Linked DNA regions of Homo sapiens: all the other regions are linked to region 2. The links are contacts of gene promoters, found by promoter capture Hi-C in human tissues and cell types (Jung and others, 2019). All regions are on one chromosome and are shown on one strand. The core of a region is centred on a gene start or on the middle of the fragment in contact, and the rest is flanking DNA. Distances in the headings are between cores, read along the strand shown. Region 1 overlaps ACTR5 (actin related protein 5). Region 2 holds the start of ADIG (adipogenin). Region 3 holds the start of PPP1R16B (protein phosphatase 1 regulatory subunit 16B).

Evidence for each region. Contacts are between HindIII fragments. The study calls those that stand out against the background at their distance.
Region 1: a contact is called between a fragment that was not itself captured here and the fragment with the promoter of ADIG in region 2, in 2 of the 25 tissues and cell types used here (hippocampus and mesenchymal stem cells).
Region 3: the fragment with the promoter of PPP1R16B here is called in contact with the fragment with the promoter of ADIG in region 2 in 1 of the 25 tissues and cell types used here (H1 embryonic stem cells).

What each region holds. Positions count from the first base shown.
Region 1 is chr20:38,757,748-38,761,908 of GRCh38, reverse strand. The region is part of intron 5 of ACTR5 (actin related protein 5); the gene reads right to left. It also overlaps the pseudogene RN7SKP173. Among named protein-coding and RNA genes, the nearest start is that of ACTR5, 11 kb to the right of the region's middle. The HindIII fragment of the contact is 3,319 bases long and covers 429-3,747 here.
Region 2 is chr20:38,579,395-38,583,740 of GRCh38, reverse strand. It overlaps ADIG (adipogenin), which reads right to left and starts at 2,544. Exons shown (of 3, transcript NM_001393816.1): 1 at 2,367-2,544. The coding sequence starts at 2,490. The HindIII fragment of the contact is 13,860 bases long and covers 1-4,346 here.
Region 3 is chr20:38,802,846-38,807,145 of GRCh38, reverse strand. PPP1R16B (protein phosphatase 1 regulatory subunit 16B) reads right to left here and starts at 1,449. Exons shown (of 11, transcript NM_015568.4): 1 at 1,354-1,449. RefSeq lists silencers at 400-749, 810-1,029, 1,220-1,599 and enhancers at 1-831, 1,860-2,129, 1,412-2,273, 2,274-3,136. The HindIII fragment of the contact is 22,338 bases long and covers 1-4,300 here.

The DNA.
Region 1 (4,161 bases), core at 839-3,338, 180 kb before region 2:
TCTGCCTGCCCTTTCCCAACACCCTTCTCCACAGTCTCCTTTCTAATCTCAACCCTGGAAATCTTAAAAGATCATCTTAGTTGCCTCAAAAAATGAACTTCCCTCTTTATTCTTCATTCTACTTCCTTATCTATTTTCATGTCCTTGAGCGCTTGTTTGGAGGTTCTAGCAGGGGAGCGCAGCTACTCGTATACTCTTGACGGAAGATCAGTCCTCCTCTATTGGGGATGGTCGTCCTCTTCGACCAAGCATGCAGCTTTGGGAGAGACACACACGAAGTGGTGAGGACAGAAAGACACCAGCTTAGCCAGCCAGATCAGCCGAATCAACCCTGGCAATCAATGGGGTGACAGATATCGCAGCCAGATCACCCTCACATCCTATTTTCTTATCCTTTCAAGCTTTCCTTGTTTCAAAAAATAATTCTCATCCTAGGTTAAGCTGACCATTCAAGCTTTTAACTCTCCCATCAACCCTTTTGGCTTCCTTTATCTCTTACTGCTCCTGCTCAATCTTCGTCCTGGCTTTTCTTCTGTCACCTAACTTTCAAGTGGTGGCATTCTCCAGGAATTTTTCTTTTCTTCCTCCCCATTTGATTCTGTCCTCCCATAGCTCCACCTGATGTCCCACAGAGTGCTGAAAAGCTCCACCTGATGTCCTACAACAATTTTAAAGATAAGGAGCTCAGGGCCAGGCACGGTGACTCATGCCTGTAATCCCTGCACTTTGAAAGGCAAGGTGGGAGGCTTGCTTGAGGCCAGGAGTTCGAGAACAGCCTGGGCAACACAGTGAGACCCATCTCTACAAAAAATTAAAAAGCAAAAAGTTAGCCGGGCATGGTGGTGCACTCCTGTAGTCCTAGCTACTAGGGAGGCTGAGGTGGGAGGATCAATTGAGCCCAGGAGTTCCCAAAACAAAATCTCATCGTCTCATTCCCTTGCTCAACATCCCTGGAAGGCTCCGAATGTCTGAAGGATAAATTACAGTGAGCCATCATCACAACATATACTCCAGCCTGTGCAACAGAGTAAGATCCAATCTCTTAAAAAAAAGAAAAAAAAAAGGTGCTCAAAACTAAGCCAATTATCTTCCCAAACTTGGTCAAAAGGCACTACCATCTACCCACTGCCTTTCAATACAGCCTAAGGGTTACAAGGGTGGAATCTGGAATTGAACTGCCTGTGTGTGAATTTGATCAGCACTACTTCTAGCTATGTGACCTCACTCCAAATCTTTCCTTGTCTGTAAAAGGGGGATAATGATAGTACCTACCCATTGAGTTGTGAACACGAACCAGGAGGACACCTACGTAGGTGCTCAGCAAGGAGTCGGCACATGCCACATGCTCTATTATCAACACTGCTACTCTTGTCACCTTGGCTTGCAAATGGCAGCGAGATCTTGGGATCCTACATCTGATCCTACATCTGTTTTGTTTTCCCACCTGCAGTCTCACCCCTCCCTTCAACCCATCATCCTAACTGCCACCAGTTAGTTTCCCAAAACAAAATCTCATCGTCTCATTCCCTTGCTCAACATCCCTGGAAGGCTCCGAATGTCTGAAGGATAATATGCAGGCTCATAAGACTGATGGGTAAAGAACTTAATAGTCATCTCCACTTCATCACCCACCACAGCTTTTCTTGTTCACACTCTATATGCCTGCATGTGTGGTTCTTTCCACCTAAAATGTCCTTCCCTCCTCCTTTTGCTACCTACTGAAATCAAATAATCTTCCTTTTCTTTTTTTTTTTTTAGACAGGGTCTTGTTCTGTTGCCCAGGTTGGAATGCAGTGGCACAACCATGGCTCACTGCAGCCTCGAACTCCCAAGCTCAAGTGATCCTCCCACCTCAGCCTCTCAAGCAGAGACTACAGATGCATGCCCAGCTAATTAAAAAAATTTTTTTTAGAGATGGGGTCTATGTGACTCAGGGATTGGTCTCAAAGCGCTGGGCACAAGTGATCTTCCCTCCTCAGCCTCTCAGTGTTGGGATTACAGATGTGAGCCACTGTGCCCGGCCCAAATAATCTTTCAAGGCCCAGCTGAAACATCCAGTCCTTCTCAAAAAACCAAATGTGTATTCCCACACACATTTACCACCATACCTGCTACGCTTCATTACAGTCAGCTAAGCATGGTGCTATAGCCCTCATTTTTTGTTTTTGAGGTACCCAGGAAGGCAGGCATTGTATCTTAATCACCTCTGCATCCCTGGTATACTGCACCTGTCACTGAGTGGTGGGCCCCTGGGATACACCCTCAAATTCCCCTGAAATAGAGATGATTGTAAAGCTTTGGGTTTCAAGAGGTTTCTTCAGCTGCCAAAAAAAAATCAACATTCACCTTCACCTAGCTTCACTCCAAAGCATACCATCTTAAGATAACTTCTTAGCTTCACAAAAATTATAAAAAGGACATTTATTTATCCCAATTCATACAAGTCGCAGAGAGGAACAAAGCTGATCATTTCAACACAGAGAACAGGCATCCAACAGAGAATAGTTTTCTCTGCCACGGCTGGCTTCTCTCTCGCTAGAGTTTGCCAGGGTCTCCACATGTCTTATGTGGCGTTCAGAAACACTAATATGACTGTTCTTTTGGAACTGCAGGGAATGACAGTTTGCCAAGGCATACCACAGAAGATGCAGCATGGTTCCCTAAAACAGCCTTGAGCGGCATAAGAAGAAGCAGAGGCCAACCCTGATCTTGGCTAGTAAAGCCGGAGAACTTTCTATATTTGGCCCATTGCGTTTTCCAACAAATGATGATGCTCAAAACCTGTGTTCTCCCCCCTCCTACCCTCTTATGCTGTGCTTGTAGCTATGAAAAGCAAGCATCTTCTGGTTTAAATACTTGGTAAAAATGCTAACAAAGCCTGCTCCTTCACAACATCCTCACAGAAACAACTGCAGAATAGCAAGGGTCAGAATAGATTGGTCTATAAGAAAAAATAGATTTTCGAGACCTCTATTAGTTAAATTCCAGCTGTATTAATTCAGTTCAGCCATTACTGCTTAAGTGCAATTTCAATATGAATTTTGGTTCACATATATTGATTCAATTCATTCTAAATGAATTATATTATTGGAAACTCTACAAATACTTTTTGAATGGTAGAACTGGCTAGCCATTGTCATGGTCAAGTTTATCCCACAAATGTGACTGTAATTGACTCTGATCATTAAGAATTACCCTAAAATGCTGAATGCTGACTAACCATTAAAGCTTTGACGACTGATCATCACTTTTTTTTTTTTTTGAGACGGGGTCTTGCTCTGTTGCCCAGGCTGGAGTGCAATGTCACAATCTCAGCTCACTGCAACCTCCGCCTCCTGGGTTCAAGCGATTCTCCTGCCTCAGCCTCCCGAGTAGCTGGGATTACAGGCGCCTGCCCCGACGCCCGGCTAATTTTTCTATTTTCAGTAGAGACAGGGTTTCACCATGTTGGTCAGGCTGGTCTCGAATTCCTGACCTCAGGTGATCCACCCACCTCGGCCTCCCAAAGTGCTGGGATTACAGGCGTGAGCCACCGTGCCCGGCCCAACTGATCATCAAATTTGTTGCATATAGAAAAATCTTTTGCAGTCCGGCATTTCAAAATCCCCTAAACCCAAGGAGATTTAAATGTGTGTACCAGAGCATAAAATGAAGTAGGTACCTACTGAGTATCTGCTGAAAGAATGGGGGAATGGGTGATGAATCACATCATGTAACAAATGCAGACAAATGAACAAAGAAAAGGAAAAACTAGTTTCCCCACTGCTGAAGAATCACATCTTCACAGCTGTTTGGTTTTTTTTCCCTTTTTGAAATCTGAAATCCCTCATCTGCTTGTGGCTGAGTGGCACTGCTCTGGTATAAAGAAAACTATGTCCTGCTAACATGTCAAGCATGATAAAAACTAAATATGGATGAATACATAACAAAGACAACATGGTTCCGGATTTCAGTAAACAACAACTCAAATCTCAAAGACCTGAAAAACCAAGAGAAGCAAAATGGAAAAGGCACACACTGATTCAACTGAGGCTGATCTGGGATGCTGTGTTGGAAGAAGATGGTAAAGGCCCCTTCTACACAAGATCTTGGTGATCCAATAAGGTGTATCTAGTAAGCCTATCTCAGGATCTGCTCTATAAAGCATACACTCATGTACTG
Region 2 (4,346 bases), core at 1,295-3,794:
GGGTAGGTTGTGGATGGTTTTGGAGTTGGGCCTCCAAGCAGAGTGAATGCTGGAGGAGACTCATGCTGCAGGCCTTGGCCTGGGTGGTAGGAGAAATGTCTCCTCTCTGGAGAAGGCATCCAAAGCCACACCACCTGCATTTCCTCCCACATTGACAAAACCAGCATTGGCTGGACTATTTTCTCAGCCTACAGGAACCTACGATGTGCCAGGTGTGTATGCGTACTGTGTGCCCTGCCCTGTAAGTACCCGATATGCATCGACCACTGAAGCCTGTCACAACCCCAAGGGGCAGGTACTAGTGTTGTCTCCATTTTGTAGATGAGAAAAGCAAGGCTCAGAGAGGTGTCCACAGTCATGCAGCTGGTAGGTGGCAGAGTCAGGATTTGAAGGCAGACAATTGGCTCTCTTAAGTAGTTCACAGATGTATGACCTTGGACAGGTTGCTTCTCCTCTCCTAGCCTCAGTTTCCCCAATTGTGATATTATTAAGTATTATTAAGCAGGGTTATTATGAGGATTACATAAGATTATGCAAGTCCAGTGTTTAGCACAAGGTCTGGTATATAGTCAGTGTTCCAAACAGGTTCACTATTATTAGGAACTATTAAGAAGCAAGGATGAGGCTGGGTGCGGTGGCTCATGCCTGTAATCCCATCACTTTGAGAGGCTGAGGCGGGTGGATCACCTGAGCTCAGGAGTTCGAGACCAGCCTGGCTAACATGGTGAAACCCCATCTCTACTAAAAATACAAAAATTAGACAGGTGTGATGGCGGGCACCTGTAATCCCCGCTACTTGGGAGGCTGAGGCAGGAGAATCGCTTGAAGCCAGGAGGCAGAGGTTGCAGTGAGCCGAGATTGTGCCACTGCACTCCAGCCTGGCTGACAAGAGTAAGACTCTGTTTCAAAAAATAAAAATAAAAAAAAAAGGATGATATCTGAACTCATATCTTCCAGACTCCAGAGAGACAACTTTTATCGCCAGTATGCAAACAAGGCTGACTCCCTACCAGCTGTGGGGCCCAATGCCTAAACCGTGCCCCTCAGGGAGGGCTGTGGTCTACCCTAGGACTATGAGGAGAATATACTTTAAATAAACACTTTCTAGAAACAAAAGGACATCCCAAGTTCTTGCCAGGAACTCCCAATAATTACATAATTATAAGCCCCTACATTTGAGATCATGGGGCTAGCAGGGGTGTGGGGAGGGACTTCTCACCCTGCCTCAACAACATCTGACCATTGCTGGCGGCATGTGCTGCGCCCTCCCTGCCTAGCTTGCCAAAGGTCATGGCACTCAGCAGCAGGAGGTAGGAGGTCAAGTGGTCCCCACGAAGAGGCCTTTTTTTGACACAGGGTCTCACTCTGTCTGCTGGAATACAGTGGTGTGATCTCGGCTCACTGCAGCCTCGACCTCCCAGGCTCAAGCAATTCTCCCACCTCAGCCTCCTCAGTAGCTGGGACCACAGATGCATGCCACCACACCTGGCTAATTTTTGTATTCCTTGTAGGGACGTTGCCCAGCCTGGTCTCAAACTCCTGGGCTCAAGCAACCTGGCCACCTTGGCTTCCCAAAGTGCTGGGATTACAGGTGTGAGCCACTGTGTCCAGCAGGAAGAGACCTCTTGCTGAAGGGGATGCTCAGGGAGACACATGCCAGAGGAGCAGAAGTCCCACTCCTGCCACACAGCCAGGCCATATCCTGATCCAGCCACCCCCAGCTTCCTCCACAGCCAGCTTCGTCCCACCTCTTGCTCCTCTTGGTGGCATGCTGAGGTCAGGGTGAATGTCAGCTGGCTTCCATGAGCCTGTCTCCCAAAGCAGCCAGATCCTTTCTGATACATGGCTTAGGCAGAAACAGTGAGTGGTCTGCAGGTATCTGAAAAATGCCTAAGGCTGCTGTATCCCATCGTGCAAGCTGTTTACTGCACAAAAGCAGCCAATTGAGAGGGTGAGCGGGGCTGAAATCCAGCCCACGCTCTGCTCACAGAGCCTTGCACCCCAGCTGAAAGGGGCACCTGGAAGTTCATCTGCCTGGAGCGATAACCTCTGATTTGTTCAAAAGATCACTCTCGAACTCTAGGTTCAAACTCTAGGACTCACTCTCAAACTCTAGGTTCAAACTCTAGGACTCACTCTCGAACTCTAGGTTCAAACTCTAGGACTCACTCTCGAACTCTAGGTTAAGAAACCCTAAACAACCAAACCAATCCTTTCCACTTAAGAGTTGACTGCTTGTATCTAAGCGAGCACTTAAAATGACTGAAGGAAGCCCCTTCTGCAGTTGTTTCAGGACACACTGGCCTATTTGGCCCCCTGCCTAGCTCCAGGATTAGGGTCCTGCCTGGACGGGGTAAGAAGCTCACCTTGGCTAAGTAAGAAGCGTAGCCAGATGATCAATAACAACAGCAAACCCACAGGGAGGCAGAACCAGAAAACCAGGAAAGAAAATGTGAGGTCGTTCACCAGCGGCATCAAAGGGTACTTCATGGCGCATGTGTGGCTAAGCTGGGCCAGCCTGGGCTGGGCTGGCAGGGCTGCCCCATGGGACCTGGCAGGCTGGGCCATGCTCTGCTCTCAGCCCAACTGTGACTAAGCTGTGACATAACAAAGAAGTCACAGTGTACTTCAGGCAAAGCATGCAGGGGACACTTTGAGGGAGAGCTGTTCTGGATGAAAGGGTGGGAAGTGAGGCAGTGAGACAGACAGTCTGGCTGAGAATTAAAAAGCCCAGGTTTCCAGGCAGGCCTGGGCTTGAATCTCAGTCCAGTAGCTATTGGGTTCATGACACCCCTCTGACCCTTTTTCTTGTAAGATGGAGATAATTCTGTTAAGTTAGAAAAATAGATGGGACAAAAATTACCCCCAGGATCGGTGTTCATATATCTGAAGTCACAGACCCCCTCCAGGAGCCAGCTGGGTCCCCAGGTCCTGTAATACCAGCTGTGGGTGCCCACGTCCACACTTGGTGGGGGTGCTGGGGACTGCGGCAAACTGGATGCAGCTTACTGCATCCTAAGCATGCAGTGATGGCAGCTCCAACCAATAACTGCTACAAGTGAAATGCAGGTCCATTATTGCAGGACTCCTAACTTTCCCAAGACAGGCAAAAAGTCTGGATTTCTGTGAAATCTCCCAAGTTTAAAATGTCGGATCAGACCTTGTCAAAGCACTGTTGGCTAAACAAAACGTCTGCCAGGCTGGATTGGTCACTGGGCTGCCACTGAAAACTTTTAAAATCTAACACATAGTAGATTATTCTAATTATTACTAGATTAAATGACTATAAATGATTATTACTTAATCTGAAAGCTTGTGCCTCTCCTTATTAGGGTTTTCAGTGAGGGGCTTCTAACGACTTGAATCTTGTTCCTTTATCTCCTGAGTGGCCAGAACACTTCCACATGTCATCCTCATCTTCTCCTATCTGTCATCCGTTCACTCATCAAGTATTCAGTAAACCTCCATGTGCCAGACCATGGCAGAAAGGAGGCTTCGGGCTTCCCACTGGAGTGGCTGCTGCATGGTATTCTCCAAGAGGACCCTTGGACCACCTGCCTGTGACTGCCAGCAGGTGGGTGGGTGCTGGAGTGTATTTATTAAACATGCCAATTCCCAGGCTCACCTTCGTCTCCTCAGACCTCTTGGGGGTGGGGGTGTGGCTTGGGATTCAACACACTGATAAGCAACTAGAATGATTCTGATGCAGGCTTGATTTTGAGACTACAGCATCTCATGACTTAAAAGCACCTGTTGAAAAGGCAAACCAGGTCCAGGCGGGGGAGCAGCTGCAGGAAGGGGGTGGTAAACTTAGGGAAAAACATGGAGTAGAAAACCCCCTTATAGGAAAAGACACCGATTCAAGGAGAAGGGCGCATGGGGCCAGCAACAGGAAAAAATAAGAGCATGGGAGGGGCTGGGAGAGCTGGGGCATGGTTTCAAGAGTCCTAGCCCAGCTGTGGGAAGGCCAGAATTCCTACAAGAGGAAGTCTGGGAAAATGGACTAGAATGAGTGTCCAAGAGGAGCAGTGCTCTGGCAGGGTGCTCCTGATGCAGGGCCCAGAGGCCAAGAGAAGGAGGAGCAGGTGGTCTGGGTTGGGGGTGATTCCCTGGAACTGGGTCCTGAAGGGGCTGCGGTCAGAGAGAGAGCTGAGCAGCATAGCTGGGAAAGGCTTGAGCACACATTTTTTTTCTGGCTACAAAACCTTTCCAGACACCAAAACAGGGCTACTGTGCAGTCAGCGTCTCTGGCCACTAGGCCCAGCTGGAGGTCCTGTTGTGCGTGGGCAGAGCAGGCAGAACACACAGTGCAAGGTAGGCAGCTCCCAGGCACAGTTCAGAGGGCA
Region 3 (4,300 bases), core at 200-2,699, 220 kb before region 2:
CCTGCGGACTGAGGCCGCCATCGGCAGGCCCTTTCCAGGGAGAGCCCTGCGGGAAAGGGCGCCTGTACCTCCGGGCCCCGGGTCCTCCACAGAGGGTGATTCAGAGGCGGCACCTGGTGTCCAGAGCCGCGGAGAGCTGGGGGGCTCTTCTGACAGTGAAAACAGGGGCCCTTTATGTGAAATGCAATCACATGGGCGCGCAGGCAGCTCGGTTTTCGGTTCCTAGAAGCGCTGATGAAGCCACATCCCTCTCCCTCCGCTCCTGAGGTGCCCGGGAGCACCGGGACCCAGGCCTGGCGCGCGGCAGCGGCGCAGCCCTGGGGTCTCAGGAGGGCCAGATTCAAAGCTCTCCCAGGCTCAATTATCCTCCAAGGGCTGGGAGCTGCATCATCAGCATCTCCAGTGAAGCTGGAGGCCGGGCCGGGGTGGGGGAGCGGAGGAAGGGAGTCTACATGGGGGAAGGAGGAGGGCAGCGAGCGCCTGCCTCCCGGCTCTCCACCCGGGGCGGTCTGGGCAGCTCAGCCTGGGCACTCCGGGTGACCTTGGGGAGACCCCTCTGGGCGACCTCTCAGGGGCGGCTGCACGTCTCCGCCCATCCTCGGCGCCCGGGGGCGCTCCTCTGGGCCGGAATCGATGAGCCGGAGTCGCCCAGAGGGGAGCGCTCCTGGCGCGGGGGACCCAGCCGCCGGCGCACGGGGCCCTGGGAGAGGCCGGGCGCGCCCCTCCCGGGGAACTACCACTCGCGGGGTCTCCCCGGGCTGGCTGGTGCTGTCAGCCGGATCCTGAGGCGGGGCGGGTCTGCAGGTGGAGGCGCCTGCCTTGGGGATCTTTCCCGCCCGGGCAGGAGCGCTCTCTGCGCCCTGCCGCTGCCCGCCAGGACCAAGCCCCGCCACGCGAGGGGGCGGCACCACCATGCCCGGCCGGGAGAGTGCGCGGGGGGGGGTTGTTTGGTGTCCGCTGTGGCTCCCGCCGCCCGGCATTGCACCCCCGGCAGACGGCGGCCCCATGAGTCCAGAACAGACCGAGGACCCCACCTCCCCGCCCCAAGATCGGTCTACGACGGCCGCAGCCAACAACCTGCCAATGCGCCCCCTCCCCTGGCCTCGTCAAGGAATTGCGAGGCCGGGGAGAACGCCCCCATTCCAGCCCGACTCCCGGACCTAGCGCTCTCGGTACCCGTCTTTCCAGAGTCCCCACACTCCCATTTATCTCAAGCTATCGTCCCTTGGCCAAAGCGCCCCGGCCCCCAGCTAGGTGATAGCAGGCTGGGACCACCTCCCCGCCCCATCCTCATCCCCCGCCCTGCGAAGCCGCAGAGCGCAAGGAGGGTGGTGGCGCCGCCGGGGAACTCACCCGCTCTCCCGAGCCCTGCCCCGGGCGGCTCCCGACCCCGGCTGTGTCTGTGGGTCCCCGAGCCGCAGCTGCTCCAGCGGCGACAGAGCTGGCTCTGCTCGGCCGCGAGCCTCCGCGCCGCCTCTCGGCTCCTCCCCCAAGGCGGGGCCTGAGCTCCTGGGACTGGGGTGGGCGCGCTCAACCCCATCCGGCTTGGGAGGCAGCGCGGGACAGGGTCCCGGCGCTCTCGGGTGGGGACCCCTCTTCTGAGCTGCAGGAAGTTGAAACCGGTTGGGACGTGGCCAGGCTTCGGAATAGTTTTCCTAACGCTGCCCCCTCCTCCAAAATAGTTTTCCTAACCCCCACCCCGACCATGGAAAGAGGGAAGCCAAGGACGGTATCCCTGCTCCCATTTGACAGACGGGAATCCTGAAGCCCAGAGAGGAGTGGTAACCTGCTCAAGGTCACACAGAATGAATGCCAGGGCCAGGAACTCAGGGTTCCTAGCTTGAAGGCCTGCGCGGCCTGAGTCTGAAGGCTTCCCAGGAGGTCCAGGGGCCGGCCCTGGCCTTGCGCTGGGGACAGATCTGTGGGGCCAGGTCCCCCAGCTGCTGGGGCCGAGACATGGGGGCTGTGGCCTGCGGTGTGGACTCGCATCATTTCCTCTTTCTGGAAAGAAGGGAGGTGAAGCGCTGGAGGAAGGAAGTGGTCGTACCTCTGCTGACGTCTGACGCCCTTTGAGATGTGCAGGATGAAGATAGGGGCTGCTTCCCTGAGATTTAACGCTAAAAATAAAAAGCAAAACATACCCGGTGGCTTCTGTCACCTCATTCAAGCCTCTTTCTGGGGCTGAAGGCCTCTGCACTCTGTGCACCAGCCTTTCTTTACAACACAATGGGTTTAACTATTTAAGTTGCTGAGAGTCACCCCCCACCATCACCACCCCAGGAAGAGAAAAGAAAGTTCATAAACAAAGCAGAGAAAACCTCCCCAAACATTCTCTGGAATCCACATTTGCTGAACCCTGGCCTTAGAACAATAGGTTTCTCTTCTCCACAAAGGCCTTGTTTCCTGAGCTTTCCCGGCCTACAGATGAGAGCCCTAGGCACCCCAGGGCCAGCCAGCTGGGGAAATTCAGAGTTTAAGTTTGGGGAGTTTGGGGATGGTACCCAGTTAATTTGATTCTCAGCTGTCATGTTTGAGGAACTCGCCCGAATCCTTTTTTTTTCACTGGCAATATTCTTTTGAGGCCACCAGCATCACCTGAGTTTAGTGATTTTCTGTTTGCTCAGTCACCTTTCTTGGGGGAGAGAAAATCTGTGGGTTGAACTTGTTCCAGGCCCCCAGGCCCTCTCCAGGAACTCTGTAAGCCCCCTTCATTGGCTCCCTGGCTCCCTCTCAGTTCATTAATAATCCAGTTGTGAATGACACTGTTTCAGGAAAAGCAATTAGACAGTAGAGCATGTGGGGAAGACTTAAAGCCATGTTTAAAATAACCCAAGGGAATCATTGTTCTCCGAAGAATGTTTCCATTGATTGATAATGAAGAGCCATGGGCTGAGAGGATGGGAACCCATCTCTCCAAGGCTTGTGTGGCACTTGGGGCCTGTGTTCCTAAAATAAGGCCTTTGGAGGGAGGGGGCTCCCAACTCCAATGTCATGCTGTTCATTCACCTCTCACACTGTGTTCGGTATCAAAAGTTAAAGTAAATTCAGAATAAGTTGGGGGACTCACAAGTCCTGATTTCAAAACTTACTAGGAAACTTCAGTCATCAAGGCAGGGTGGTACGGGTATAAGGATGGGCATACAGACCAATGGAATAAAACTGAGAGTCCAGACAGAAGCCCTTACACTTACTGCCAATTGATTTTCAACAAGAGTGCCAAGACAATTTAATGGGGAAAGAATAGTGTTTTCAAAAAATGGTGCTGGGACAACTGGATATCCACATGCAAAAGAATGAATTTGGATCCCTGCTTCATACTATATGCAACATATAGATCTAAATGTAAGAGCTAAAACTATAAAACTCTCTGAAGAAAACATAAGCCTAAATCTTCATGACTTTGGATTAAACAGTAGTTGCTTAGATATTAGCACAAGCAACAAAAGAAAAAAAAATAGATAAATTAAAAACTTTTGTGCTTTCAGGGGTATCATCAAGAAAGTGAAAAGTTATGGCTGGGCCTGGTGGCTCACACCTATAATCCCAGCATTTTGGGAGGTGGAGATAGGAGGATTACTTGAGGCCAGGAGCTCAAGACCAGCCAGGGCAACATAGTGAAACTCTGTCTCTACAAATTCTTTTAAAATTAGGCAGACGTAGTGGTTCATGATTGTAGTCCTAGCTATTTAAGAGGATTGCTTTTGCCTAGGAGTTCAAGGCTGCAGTGAGCTATGATGGTGCTACTGTACTCCCGCCTGGGTGACAGAGCAAGACCCTGTCTCTAAAAAAAAAAAAAAAAAAAAATTAAACATAAAAAGAACAAAAAGAGAGTGAAAAAATAACTGTTATAAGCTGAATTGTGTGCCCCCTCACCCCCATTCATATGCTGAACTGTACTGGTTACAGTCTCAGAACCTCAGAATGTAACTGTGGATGGAGATAAGGTCTTTAAAGAGGTGATCATCTTAAACTGAGGCCCTTGGATGGGGCCCTCATCCAATGACTGGTGTCCTCATAAGAAGAGACACTAGAGATGCGCCACACAGAGGAAAGACCAGAGGAAGGCACAGGGAGAAGAAGGTTAATTACAAACCAAGGAGAGAGGACTCAGGGCTGGGGGACCAGACCTGCCAACACCTTGATCTCAGAATTGTAGCCTTCAGAATTGTGAGGAATAAATTTCTGGGGGTTTGTTTTGTTTTGTTTTTTTGACATAGAGTTTCACTCTGCTGCCCAGGGTGGAGTGCAGTGGCACGATCTTGGCTTACTGCAACCTCCACCTCCCAGGTTCAAGCGATTC